Linked DNA regions of Homo sapiens: all the other regions are linked to region 2. The links are contacts of gene promoters, found by promoter capture Hi-C in human tissues and cell types (Jung and others, 2019). All regions are on one chromosome and are shown on one strand. Each heading gives the region's core, a stretch centred on a gene start or on the middle of the fragment in contact. The rest is flanking DNA. Distances are from core to core; before and after follow the strand shown.

What was found. The method cuts DNA at HindIII sites, captures the fragments that hold promoters and counts their contacts. A contact is called where the count stands out against the background at its distance.
Region 1: a fragment that was not itself captured here is called in contact with the fragment with the promoter of CLCNKB in region 2 in 1 of the 25 tissues and cell types used here (aorta).
Region 3: a contact is called between a fragment that was not itself captured here and the fragment with the promoter of CLCNKB in region 2, in 1 of the 25 tissues and cell types used here (aorta).
Region 4: a contact is called between a fragment that was not itself captured here and the fragment with the promoter of CLCNKB in region 2, in 2 of the 25 tissues and cell types used here (hippocampus and spleen).

What each region holds. Positions count from the first base shown.
Region 1 is chr1:16,277,435-16,280,618 of GRCh38, reverse strand. All of the region lies in intron 4 of FBXO42 (F-box protein 42), which reads left to right. Among named protein-coding and RNA genes, the nearest start is that of CPLANE2, 42 kb to the right of the region's middle. The HindIII fragment of the contact is 3,965 bases long and covers 1-3,184 here.
Region 2 is chr1:16,042,512-16,045,732 of GRCh38, reverse strand. CLCNKB (chloride voltage-gated channel Kb) reads right to left here and starts at 1,951. Exons shown (of 20, transcript NM_000085.5): 1 at 1,853-1,951; 2 at 1,141-1,247; 3 at 47-175. The coding sequence starts at 1,240. The HindIII fragment of the contact is 23,589 bases long and covers 1-3,221 here.
Region 3 is chr1:15,820,501-15,823,470 of GRCh38, reverse strand. No RefSeq gene overlaps it. Among named protein-coding and RNA genes, the nearest start is that of UQCRHL, 14 kb to the right of the region's middle. The HindIII fragment of the contact is 5,316 bases long and covers 1-2,970 here.
Region 4 is chr1:15,875,351-15,878,146 of GRCh38, reverse strand. SPEN (spen family transcriptional repressor) reads right to left here. Exons shown (of 15, transcript NM_015001.3): 3 at 1,469-1,945. Among named protein-coding and RNA genes, the nearest start is that of SPEN-AS1, 29 kb to the right of the region's middle. The HindIII fragment of the contact is 3,998 bases long and covers 1-2,796 here.

The DNA of each region.
Region 1 (3,184 bases), core at 483-2,982, 240 kb before region 2:
CAGAGAGAGTTTCCATATATCTGACACCCAGTTTCCCTAATGTTAGCATCTTGTATTAGTATAGCACACTGTGACAATTATTAGGTTGGTGCAAAAGTAATTGCGGTTTTTGCCATTGAATAATGATAAACCAATATTGGTACGTTATTATTAACTAAAATGCATACACTATTCAGATTTTCTGATTTCTTTCTTTAACATAACATCCTTTTTCTGTTCTAAGATCCCATCCTTGATACATTACATTTAGGCTTTTTGTCTCCTTAGGCTCCTTTTGGCTGTGACAGTTTCTAAGAGTTAACTTGTTTTTGATTATCTTGACAGTTTTGAGGAATACTGGTCAGGTATCTTATAGACCACTCTTCAACTTGGATGTTTATCTTATGGTTAGACTGGAGTTATGGCTTTTGGGAAGAAGACCGTGGAGATATAATGCCATTCTCATCACATCAGATCAAGAGTACATATTGTTGGCTGGTGTGGTGGCTCACGCCTATAATCCCAGCACTTTGGGAGGTCAAGGCAGGTGGATCATTCGAGGCCAGGAGTTCAAGACCAGCCTGGCCAACATAGAGAAACCCTGTCTTTACTAAAAAATACAAAAATTAGCTAGGTGTGGTGACACAGGCCTGTAATCCCAGCTACCCAGGAGGCTGAGGCACAAGAATCAGTTGAGCCAGGGAGGCAGAGGTTGCAGTGAGCCAAGATTGCACCACTGCCCTCCAGCCTGGGCAACAAAGCAAGACTCTGTCTCAAAAAAAAAAGAAAAAAAAAACCATTGTCAACATGATTTTTCACTGTTTCTATTAACCAGGATCACCTGGTTGAAATAGTATACATTTGATTTTCCACTGTAGAGTTACTCTTTTCTCTGCCTTGTAATTCTTTTTTATAGTCTATTGCTTTCTTTTCCTGTTATTCTCTTTTACCCATTTGTAATTGCCCTTGGTTCTCGATGTTCCATTGAATTTTAGGGGAATAACTAAGCTATTTGACTATTATGTTTATCATTAGAGTCAGGAAAGGATAATGAGAAGAGGGTATATCATTTGAAGAAACTTTTTCACAGCTTAGAGAATTTTTAGATATCAACATGATTTGCTTTTAAAATTTTTTTGGTGAGGAGCAGGATGCTAGACAAGATGTAGACAAGATATCTCTTCCTGTTTGTTTGCTTTTCAAGAGATGGGGTCTCACTCTGTTGCCCAGGCTGGAGTGTAGTGACTCAGTCATAGGTCCTAGTTCACTGCAGCCTCAAACTCCTAGACTCAAGCAGTCATCCTGCCTCAGCCTCCCTTCTTTCAAGCTATCCAGAGTTAGAAGCTCCGTTGGAAATAATTTTGTTTTTTTAGGGCTATTCTCTAAAAGAACAATATCTTCCAAAATCACTGAGTAATCTTGCAGAAAAGCTAATTTACTTTCGGAGGTGGGGGCAGGAAAAAGTATTGGTCATATCACATGTCAGTAGGAAGACCACAGGATATCCTTAAAAATTGGATAGGGAGCACGACCAGTGCTAGAACTGTTCAGAAATAACCGTCTAGGCTGGGCGCGGTGGCTCATGCCTGTAATCCCAGCACTTTGGGAGGCCGACCCAGGCAGATCACCTGAGGTCGGGAGTTCGAGACCAGCCTGACCAACATGGAGAAACCCCGTGTACTAAAAATACAAAATTAGCCAGGCATGGTGGCACATGCCTGTAGTCCCAGCTGCTCGGGAGGCTGAGGCAGGAGAATCGGTTGAACCCAGAAGGCGGAGGTTGTGGTGAGCCAAGATTGCGCCATTACATTCCAGCCTCCAGCCTCGGCAACAAGAGCGAAACTCCGTCTCAAAAAAAAAGAAAAAAAGAGAAATAACTGTCTAGAAATAACTGTCCAGAATATTACTGTTTCTTTTACAGTGTAAATGATACCTTAAAAAGGTTACATATGGGGCTGTCAGTCCCGTTAATGAAGCTTACTGTCATGTGTCTAGTGGAAAAGCTTAATCTTAGGTTATCTTCCCTGAGCCTGTGGTAATATCACCAGGAAATGTCTAAACAAGGGAGTCTGGGACTGATACCTGGTACCAGGTATAACTAAAGCAGCTGACAGTAGAGTCTATTCTAACAAAAAACAAAACAAAATAAAAATAAAAAAGACAGTAGTCTATTCTGGGAAAAGATTTCCCAGTCCATCCTTTGGCTCAGGTCCCAAACGTCGGTGCTAACATTGAAACAGCTGGATGTGGTTTTTTTTGTTTTGTTTTTTGTTTTTTTTTTTGAGATGGAGTTTCGCTCTTGTTGCCCAGGCTGGAGTGCAATGGCGTGATCTCCGGCTCACTGCAACCTCCGCCTCCCGGGTTCAAGCGATTCTCCTGCCTCAGCCTCCCGAGTAGCTGGGATTACAGGCATGTGCCACCATACCCAGCTAATTTTGTATTTTTAGTTGAGATGGAGTTTCTCCATGTTGGTCAGGGTGGTCTCAAACTCCCAGCCTCAGGTGATCCGCCCGCCTCGGCCTCCCAAAGTGCTGGGATTACAGGCATGAGCCACCACGCCTGGCCTGGATGTGGATTTTTAAAAATTATTTATTTTTTGATACAGGGTGTCACTCCATCACCCAGGCTGGAGTACAGTGGCACGAACATGGTTTACTGCAGCCTCGACCTCTTGGGCTCAAGTGATCCTCCTGCCTCAGCCTCCCTAGTAGCTGGGACTATAGACATATGCCACCAAGCCCAGCTAATTTTTTAAATTTTTTGTTGAGACAGGGTCTTGCCCTGTTGCCCAGGCTGGTCTCAAACTTCTAGGCTCAAGTGATCCTCCTGCCTCATCCTCCGAAAGTGCTGGGATTACAGGCCTGAGCCACCACGCCCAGCCTGGATGTGGAATTTTTTAATTTTTTTTTTTTTTTTGAGACAGAATCTCGCTCTGTCACCCGGCCTGGAGTGCAGTGGCGAATTTCGGCTCATTGCAACCTCCGCCTCCTGGATTCAAGCAATTCTTCTGCCTCAGCCTCCTGAGTAGCTGGGATTACAGGTGCATACCACCACGCCCGGCTAGTTTTTGTATTTTTAGTAGAGATAGGGTTTCACCGTGTTGGCCAGGCTGGTCTCAAACTTCTGAGCTCAAGTGATCCGCTTGCCTCGGCCCCCCAAAATGCTGGGATTACAAGCATTAGCCACCATGCCCAGCCTGGATATG
Region 2 (3,221 bases), core at 702-3,201:
CTCAGAATCCCTTGGCCCAGAGCAGCACCTGCCATGGAGGGGTTACCTCGGACCACACTCTCAACAGCCAAGTCCATGGCACAGCTGACCAGGGCCATGAGCACCCCGAGGGTCATCAGGAAGTACCAGTCCTCGCCCAGGCGGAAGAGCTTCTGCTTCAGCCACTCCAGGCCACCTGGGGCAGGGCATGGGGTCACGGCACAGGGTGGGGCAGGAGGCACAGACAGTCCCATCCTTGGAGGCCTGCTGGGCTTCAGGCAGAGAGGCTGGGGCAGGGGGATGGAGCTTGGTGGTATACTCTGGGGTAGTCCCGAGGGGGCCCTGCCTCACATAAGTGGCCGGGCAGGATTTGTGGGAGGTGACAGTGGTGACACAGTGGGTGCCAGGACTGCTGCCCCTACCAGAAAGCCGTTGACCTGCCGACCCTCCGCATCCCTGCCTGTACTGGGAGGTTCCTGGGGGACAGGGAGTATGGAGGGGGCTGGCAGCTACAGCTTTCACCTGCATCCCCGCAGAGTCCATAGCTTAGAGAGCACCAGGATCTAGCAGACTCCTGCGTGTCCCAGGACCTGTGGCGCCAGGTATCCTCTGGGTCCCCAGCAATGCTCCTGGCCCACTGGCTGCTAGCCCAGCCTGGGAGCTGGCCCTCACTGGCTGTGGGCACCAGCCCCTGGGGTTGCAGTCAGCCTCCTTCTGTGGTCCCTACTTGCTCTGCCCCGTAGCTGAGGGGACAGTCAGGTCTCAAAGTGAACAAAGCACATGGGGCTCCAAGGAAAGGTGCCAAGTGTAGGCTGCCCCAGCCCCTTGCTGTGGCCCCAGCTGTCCCAGCAGCTAACCCCCACGTCCCCTCATTGGCACAGGTAGGTGAGGGAGAGGCCTGGGTGGAAGATGGGCACAGTGACCAGGCCTTGGGCTGTATCTCCCGAAAGGCAGAGGGCAGATGCCCGGCCCATCTGACCCACAGACAGCTGGACAGACAGACCCCTTCCCTCCCTGCCACCCAGGAGACTTTGGGCAGTCATGTCCTGGACAAATGCCAGGAGGAGGGTGGTTCCTGGGCAGGGAGGTGGGGTGGGAGCTGGGCAGGAATGATGTCCTGAGTGGTCCTCCAGGGGGAAGGGAAGAGGACCTGGCTCTCACCTCGGATGCCTCGGCGGATGCGGGGACAGGGGCCCCACAGCTCCTGCAGAGTCACAGGGTTCCCTGAGGAGCCTTCACGCAGCCCCACAAACTCCTCCATCAGGCCCCTGGAGAAGCGGATAGAGGGAGGGACCGCGGTGAGCTGCTGCACGTCCTCGCACTGCCTCTAGGCCCTTCCAGTGCTCTCCCCACCCATGAAGAGGAAAGATTGTGCGTGTGTGTGTGTGTGTGTGTGTATGTGAAGTTATCACACTAGGTCTGTGTGTGCCTTCATCCCTGAGTTTCCGTCACTGAGGGTGTGTGCCTGTGTGTGTCATTGTGTGGGATGGGGGTGGGATTCCTAGGTGTCCCCCTGTGTCCAGCAGCAGACTGGGCACAGGCCGGAGCCCAAGCCCTGCTCAGAGCCCCTTCCCCTTCGGTGGCAGCCGCTCCCACCCTCCTGGGTCACTTGGCGCTTCCACTGCTGGGAGCAGTCTCTGCCCAGGGCTGTGACACTCTCACTGCAGAGTCCCATGGATGGCTCTGACTCTCCCTGTCCACCTATGAGCACCCCTGACCCCAGCTCAGGCCACAGAGGCAGCAAAACCCCAGGCCCAGAAGAAGATCCCACCAGGGCCAAAGTGAGGTGCTGGCTCCTGCCCTTACCACCCCCCCCCCCCCGCCCTGCCTGTCTGGCCCTGGCAGGCCCCAGCATCTTGCAGCGACCCCTCACCTGTCAGTCCTCCTGCTGTGGCTGAGCTGGCCCTCCTCTCACAGAGCCTCCAGCTCCCCTGCACCTGGACAGGTGTGTGTTCCAACAATCAACATCCTCCCCCCTTTCCCGCCTGGGCCCAGGGTTTATGGCGAACACTTAGAATGTCCTTGAAAACCGATCAGAACTGCCCAGGCCGGAGCAGAGCAGAGCAGAGCTGCCAACAGGGAGGGGAACAGGAGCCTCCCCACCCACCATAGCTGCACAGAGGGTGGTGCCCAGCTGTACTCAGGCTCCTGGGTGCTGCTGGACGGGGGCTGGGAAGGGGGAGCTCACGCACACAGCAGGACAGAGAGGGGTCATCTGCCAAGGCTGAGGCTCAGGGTCCAGGGGTCTCAGAGCTGGACATGGAAGGTTTGGAAAAGCACAGAGGGAGAGGGGAGGAGGCTGGGCAGAGAAGGAGAAAGCAGGCCGGCAAAGGTGAGTGGGGCCAGCATGACCACAGCCTCCCTGTGTGCCAGGTAGAGAGTCAGCCTTCCCCTAGATTAATTACCCTGAGTGCCCACGGAAATCCCACGAGGCAGGCAGCGTGATCCCGTTGTAGAGAAATGGTGTCTCAGGGAGGTGGGGCTGCCCGTCTAAGATCACGGAGGCCGAGGCAGCGCCAGGATTCCCAGCCCAGGTTTGCCTGGCTCCAAAGCCCGCAGGCTGTGCCACACGGTCCCATCCTGATGACCCATCTTGTCCAGGGCTGGCGAGGAGGCCGACACCTGGGGCAAGGCAGTGAATTGGGGTCAGGAACTCAGACTTGATCCTGTGTCCAGACCCTCCAGGCTCAGGAAATGCCTCTCAAAGCACACGTCCAAGGGCCAGCGGCTCTGGTGGGGACTTCTGGGTAATTCCACAGAGTTTGTCCCACCCCAACAGAGGATGGCAGCACAGGTGTGAGGGGACATGGCGAGGAACAAGCACGTGCCGTGTGCCTGCAACGTGTCAGAAGCGTCACATCCGCAGCTCAAGTCCTCCTCCCCACACCCTGTGAATGGGGAGAGCCTCGCCATTTTGTAGATGGTCAGAGAGGTGAGTCACTCATCCAAGGTCACACAGCAGAGGCTGAACCCAGCCCCACACTGTGCAGCTCTTCCCCTGCCCAAAGCTCCTCCAGCTCCTGAGGCTGAACCAGGGCAATGGTTTGGGCACAGAACAGAAGAGTTGTGTCTGATGCCACTTTGGGGCAAGATGTTGGGGGCAATTGCCTCCAGTCCTACCCAGACAAAGCCACTCTCTGAATAACATGATGGCCCTTGGATGATTGTTAAAATCTGGGACCCTGGGCCACCCTTTGCCCCTAGATGCCAGGCAAGTCAAATCAAAATTGAAGGTGTGTGTT
Region 3 (2,970 bases), core at 103-2,602, 220 kb after region 2:
GTTTCACTCTTGTTGACCAGGCAGGAGTGCAATGGCACGATCTCTGCTAACTGAAACCTCCACCTCCAGGATTCAAGCAATTCTCCTGCCTCAGCTTCCTGAATAGCTGGGATTACAGGCATGCGCCATCACGCTGGGCTAATTTTGTATTTTTAGTAGAGATGGGGTTTCTCCATGTTGGTCAGGCTGGTCTCGAACTCCTGACCTCAGGTGATCCCCCTGCCTCAGCCTCCCAAAGTGTAGGGATTACAGATGTGAGCCACCGTGCCCAGCCAACAATTTTTTTTTTTTTTTTTTTTTTGAGATGGAGTCTTGTCACTCTGTCGCCCAGGCCGGAGGGTGATGGTGTGATCTTGGCTCACTGCAGCCTCAACCTCTAGGGTTCAAGCCATTCTCCTGCCTCAGCCTCCCAAGTAGCTTGGACTATAAGCATGTGCCACCACACCCAGCTAATTTTTGTATTTTTGGTAGAGGTGGGGTTTCACCATGTTGGCCAGGCTGGTCTGGAACTCCTGACCTCAGGTGATCTGCCCGCCTTGGCCTCCTAAAGTGCTGGAATTACTGGCGTGAGCCACTGCGCCCAGCCCACAATTTTTTATTTTTTGATATTTGTCACTTTGGATGAAGCCTAGCAGTAGTATATGGTTAAGTGTACATTTTCTAATTATTTATGAAATGTTGCTCTCCAGCTTATGTAGAATAAGGTCTTCACCTGTTTTTCCTTTGTCCTAGCACACACTATACTTCTGTCATTTACATTGATTTATACTGGTAGTGATTGAGGGATTGGATTCAATTTTGGGGCATTGGGAGGCAGATGTTGCAGTGAGCTAAGATCACACCACTGCACTCCAGCCTGGGGGACAGGGAGAAATTGGGGGTGGTTGAGGAAAGCTGTCTTCTGAAATGGAATATCAGGATTTCGAGGGATTCTGAGATATCCCTTGAATTACCTACTTCGTGGGACCTTTCTCACTCCTCCTAAGAATCACTGATGTGGAACTTAAAATACAGCTGAGGAAAAATCATTTCTTTTCTTTTTTTTTTTTTGAGACGGAGTCTCGCTCTGTCGCCCAGGTCACAGAGTGCAGTGGTGTGATCTCGGCTCACTGCAAGCTCCGCCTCCCGGGTCCACGCCATTCTCCTGCCTCAGCCTCCGGAGTAGCTGGGATTACAGGCGCCCGCCACTAGGCCCGGCTAATTTTTTTGTATTTTTAGTAGAGACGGGGTTTCACCGTGTTACCCAGGATAGTCTCGATCTCCTGACCTCGTGATCCACCCGCCTCGGCCTTCCAAAGTGCTGGGATTACAGGCGTGAGCCACCACGCCCGGCCCGGAAAAGATCATTTCTTTAACAAACTAGTTTAGATGTATTTCTGATGGTATTAATGCATTAGTTACATGTAGAGTATATGTCATGAAAATTCTACTTCCTGGAGAGTATTAAATTTTAAGAAAGTTTTGGCCGGGCGCGGTGGCTCACGCCTGTAATCCCAGCACTTTGGGAGGCCGAGGTGGGCAGATCACGAGGTCAGGAGATTGAGACCATTCTGTGAATGGTGAAACCCCGTCTCTACTAAAAATACAAAAAATTAGCTGGGCGTGGTGGCGGGCCCCTGTAGTCCCAGCTACTCGGGAGGCTGAGGAGGGAGAATGGCGTGAACCCGGGAGGCGGAGCTTGCAGTGAGCCGAGATCGCACCACTGCACTCCAGCCTGGGCGCCAGAGCGAGACTCTGTCTCAGAAAAAAGAAAAAGAAAAAGAAAGTTAGTTTTGGGGTTTTTTTGAGATGGAGTCTCGCTCTGTCGCTCAGTCTGGAGTGCAGTGGCACAATCTCAGCTCACTTCAACCTCTGCTTCCTAGTTTCTTTCTTTTTTTTTTTTTTGAGATGGAGTCTCCCTCTGTCACCAAGCTGGAGTGCAGTGGCACGATCTTGGTCCACTGCAACCTCCGCCTCCCAAGTTCAAGCGATTCTCCTGCCTCAGCCTCCTAAGTAGCTGGGACTACAAGTGCACACCACTACGCCCAGCTAATTTTTGTATTTTTAGTAGAGACGGGTTTCACCATGTTGTCCAGGATGGTCTCGATCTCTTGACCTCATGATCCACCTGCCTCGGCCTCCCAAAGTGCTGGGATTACAGGCATGAGCCACCGTGTCCCGTGCCTCCTGCTTTCAAGTGACTCTCCTGCCTCAGTCTCCCGAGTAGCTGGGACTACAGGCACATGCCAGGATGCCTGGCTAATTTTTGTATTTTTAGTAGAGACAGGGTTTCGCCATGTTGGCCCGGCTGGTCTCGAACTCCTGGCCTCAAGTGATCTGCCCACCTCATCCTCCCAAAGTGCTGGAATTATAGGCGTGAGTCACTGTGTCTGGCCTTAAGAAAGATTTCTCTCTCCTTTCAAAAGAAGATAAACAAGTAAGTACAGTATCCATTATATTGGGGACATTGAAACCCTGTGTACAAATATGCTGGATGTTTTCAGTTTTTTTTTTTTTTTTTTTTGAGACAGGGTCTTGCTCTGTCACCCAGCAGTGATGTGATCATGGCTCACTGCAGCTTTTAACTCCTGGGTACAAGGGATCCTCCCCTCTCTGCCTCAGCCTCCCAGGTGTCTGTGAATACAAGAGCATGCCACCACCCCCGGCTAATTTTAAAATTTTTTGTAGAGACAGGGTCTCACTGTGTTGCCCAGTCTGGGAGTAGGGAATGGATGTGGGTTGGAGAGTGGAAAGAATTGACAGGATGACCTGAGCCCTGAAGTAGGAGGGAAGGGCTGCATAAGCAAAGGAACTGGCTTTCGATAGTTCAGCTAGTAGAGGACTGGAGGATGGAATGTATGGGGGCAGATGCTGGCAAGCAAATGTGGTTGAGCAAGTCCATGCCAGAAATGCCACAAATTTACCAAGAGACAGAGTCAAGATAATTATCTATGCTGGCTGGGCACCATGGTTCACGCCTGTAATCCCAAC
Region 4 (2,796 bases), core at 183-2,682, 170 kb after region 2:
TTTTAACATATACTAGGTATCAAAGTAAGCATTTTACATTAAGTGTTCATTTTAATTTTCACAATAACTTTATTAAGGTCCTTATTAAAAATGAGAAAGCTTGGCCAGGCGCAGTAGCTCACACTGGTAATCCCAACACTCTGGGAGGCCAAGGCAGGTGAATCACCTGAGGTCAGGAGTTAGAGACCAGCCTGGCCAACACGGTAAAACCCCGTTTCTACTAAAAATACAAAAATTGGCCTGGCATGGTGATGGGTGCCTGTAATCTCAGCTACATGGGAAGCTGAGGCAGAAGACTCACTTGAACCCAGGAGGTGGAGGGTGCTGTGAGCCAAGATCACGCCATTGCACTCCAGCCTAGGTGACAAGAGCGAGACTCCATCTCAAAAAAAAAAAAAAAAAAAAAAAGGGAAAGCTGAGACCTGAAGAACATAAATAACTTATCCTAGATTACTTAAAGGATAATCTATACCACATACCCAGATCTGTGATTTCAAAATCCATATAACTAGGTTTGAAGCTAAGTTTCTTATTAAGATTACCCTCAACTTACTATTTTCGCTTTTCAAATAAAACTTTTTGGCTGGGCACTCTGGCTCATGCCTGTAATCCCAGCAATTTGGGAGGATGAGGTGGGCAAATCACTTGAGGTCAGGAGTTCAAGAACAGCCTGGCCAACATGGCAAAACCTCATCTTTACTAAATACAAAATTAGCCAGGCGTGGTTGCGCACGTTTGTAATCCCAGCTACTTGGGAGGCTGAGGCAGGAGGACTGCTGGAACCCAGAAGGCAGAGGTTGCCGTGAGCCAAGGCTACACCACTGCACTCCAGCCTTGGTGACACAGTGAGACTGTCTTTAAAATATATATATATATTTGTAGAAAGAAATTCTCAACTAGTGAGATCAGTTTACAGAACAGTAAAGTTACAACCTGCATTCAAAGGAAGCTTTTCTACTTGAGTTTATAAATTGGCTACCACCCTGATGTTAAAATTAGCTAAAATTTGTTCATAAGTTGATCTAGTCATTGATAATAAATGTGTCAACAATATTATATTTCACCAATACATATTTAACCAAACAGCTTTTACAAATCTTCAATCAAAATAATAGAAATAAATTGGTATTATACACCTACAAAATTAAAAATGTTAAAGAGATACCATATTTTCAGTGTCACAAGATTTGCCTTGCACAGCTAGAGTCACCACCTCCCTTCCACTTTGATCATTTAATTTTAATACTGTGCATCTGGAGGATGAAACAGAACTTTGCAAATCATCACTTAACTTCGAGTACTTAGAACAGTTAATTCAATGGCCACATGCCAGTTTCTTTACTGATTACATACATATATGATCCAAGATTACTTTAAAAAATAATACTATGCTGAAACCATTCCCACTGATTGTTGAGAATTTGTTTAAAGCTAGCTCATCTGTTATAACAAAAGGCTGTTAACCTACCTGTCACTGCTGGTACTACTGCTGCTGCTGATTGAATCACTACTGGAGGATCTACTTCTAGAGCCGCTGCCGCTAGGGGACCTTGTGGGTCTAGATGCTTGGCTAGCCAGTCTCTGAGGAGACTGATTTCTAGACTGGGATGAATGTGGTGACCGACTCCTGCTGTGCTGGTAATTCCGCTCTGGCCTTCTGCCTCGTACCTCCCGGGTAATATCATCCCTGTAGATATCCCTGTGTACCACACTGGGCAGTGTAAACTGCTCGCGAGCCCTAGGTTCATATCGGGGGTCATGAGCATCAAAGCGATTTGGACTTCGACTCCGAGAAGCGTAATAGAGCCCATGTTGTAAAGTCCGCTCTCGAGGATCTCTATAGTAATCCTGATCGTAATGTCTTGTCCGATCAAATCCTCCCGTCCCCCGTTCATGGTGTCCATAGGCACTATGTTCATAAGCACGCTCCCTGTTATCTGAAGCCCTGCATTTAGGAGGGGGAAAAATATTTAATCAGAAAGGAGCAAGCAAAACTAAAAGCAAGTCATGCAAACATTCACTTCAGCATTGTCTTTGTCTTTGCAACTGGTCATTTTCTAAACAGCATTAACCTACTTAATAAGCAAACGCTAACAAGCTTAACATTTTACTTGACTCCAAAAATTATTTTCACAGCTGAGCAATCATTGTTTTCATTGTATATTGGGCTTTCATGACTAGTGTTCTGCAGCTCACTTGCTTACTTTATTAGAGATTTTCTGACTTGCATACATAAATATACAATCTCCTTTTCATGTTAACGGAACAAGAGACTATTTTAATAATATGAAAGTTTTTACACTTTCATCTGATTAAAGTATATACCAAATTTTATTTACTCACAAATTTCTTTTAGGCCACATTTCCATGCTATGTTTTAACTTAGACATGAAAGCCCTGCTGCAGCGCATGTCTCAACAATAGGAAGGACTTTCAAGAAGTCCAGAAAAAATTTTCTAAGTTTAACTTTTTTTCATTAAGTTTTGACTGCTTGGATAGTTATAAAAAATTACTGGACTACATAAACTAGACTACATAGACTGCACAGCGGTACCCAATTACATTTAATAATAAAAATAGAATCTCAAAAAAAAACCACTTCAAGTATCAAAATATTGGGTTACCACATGCTACTCTATGTGAATTTAAATAAAAATAAAAATTATTTACTCCTGTGCTATCAAATTCCAAATGACTTTAAAAATGCCTATTCCATGATTCAATTTCTTAATGTATAAACTCAATGGTTGTAGGAAATATGTTCTTTTGGCTTTTAGCTATACTCAAATTGCCTGT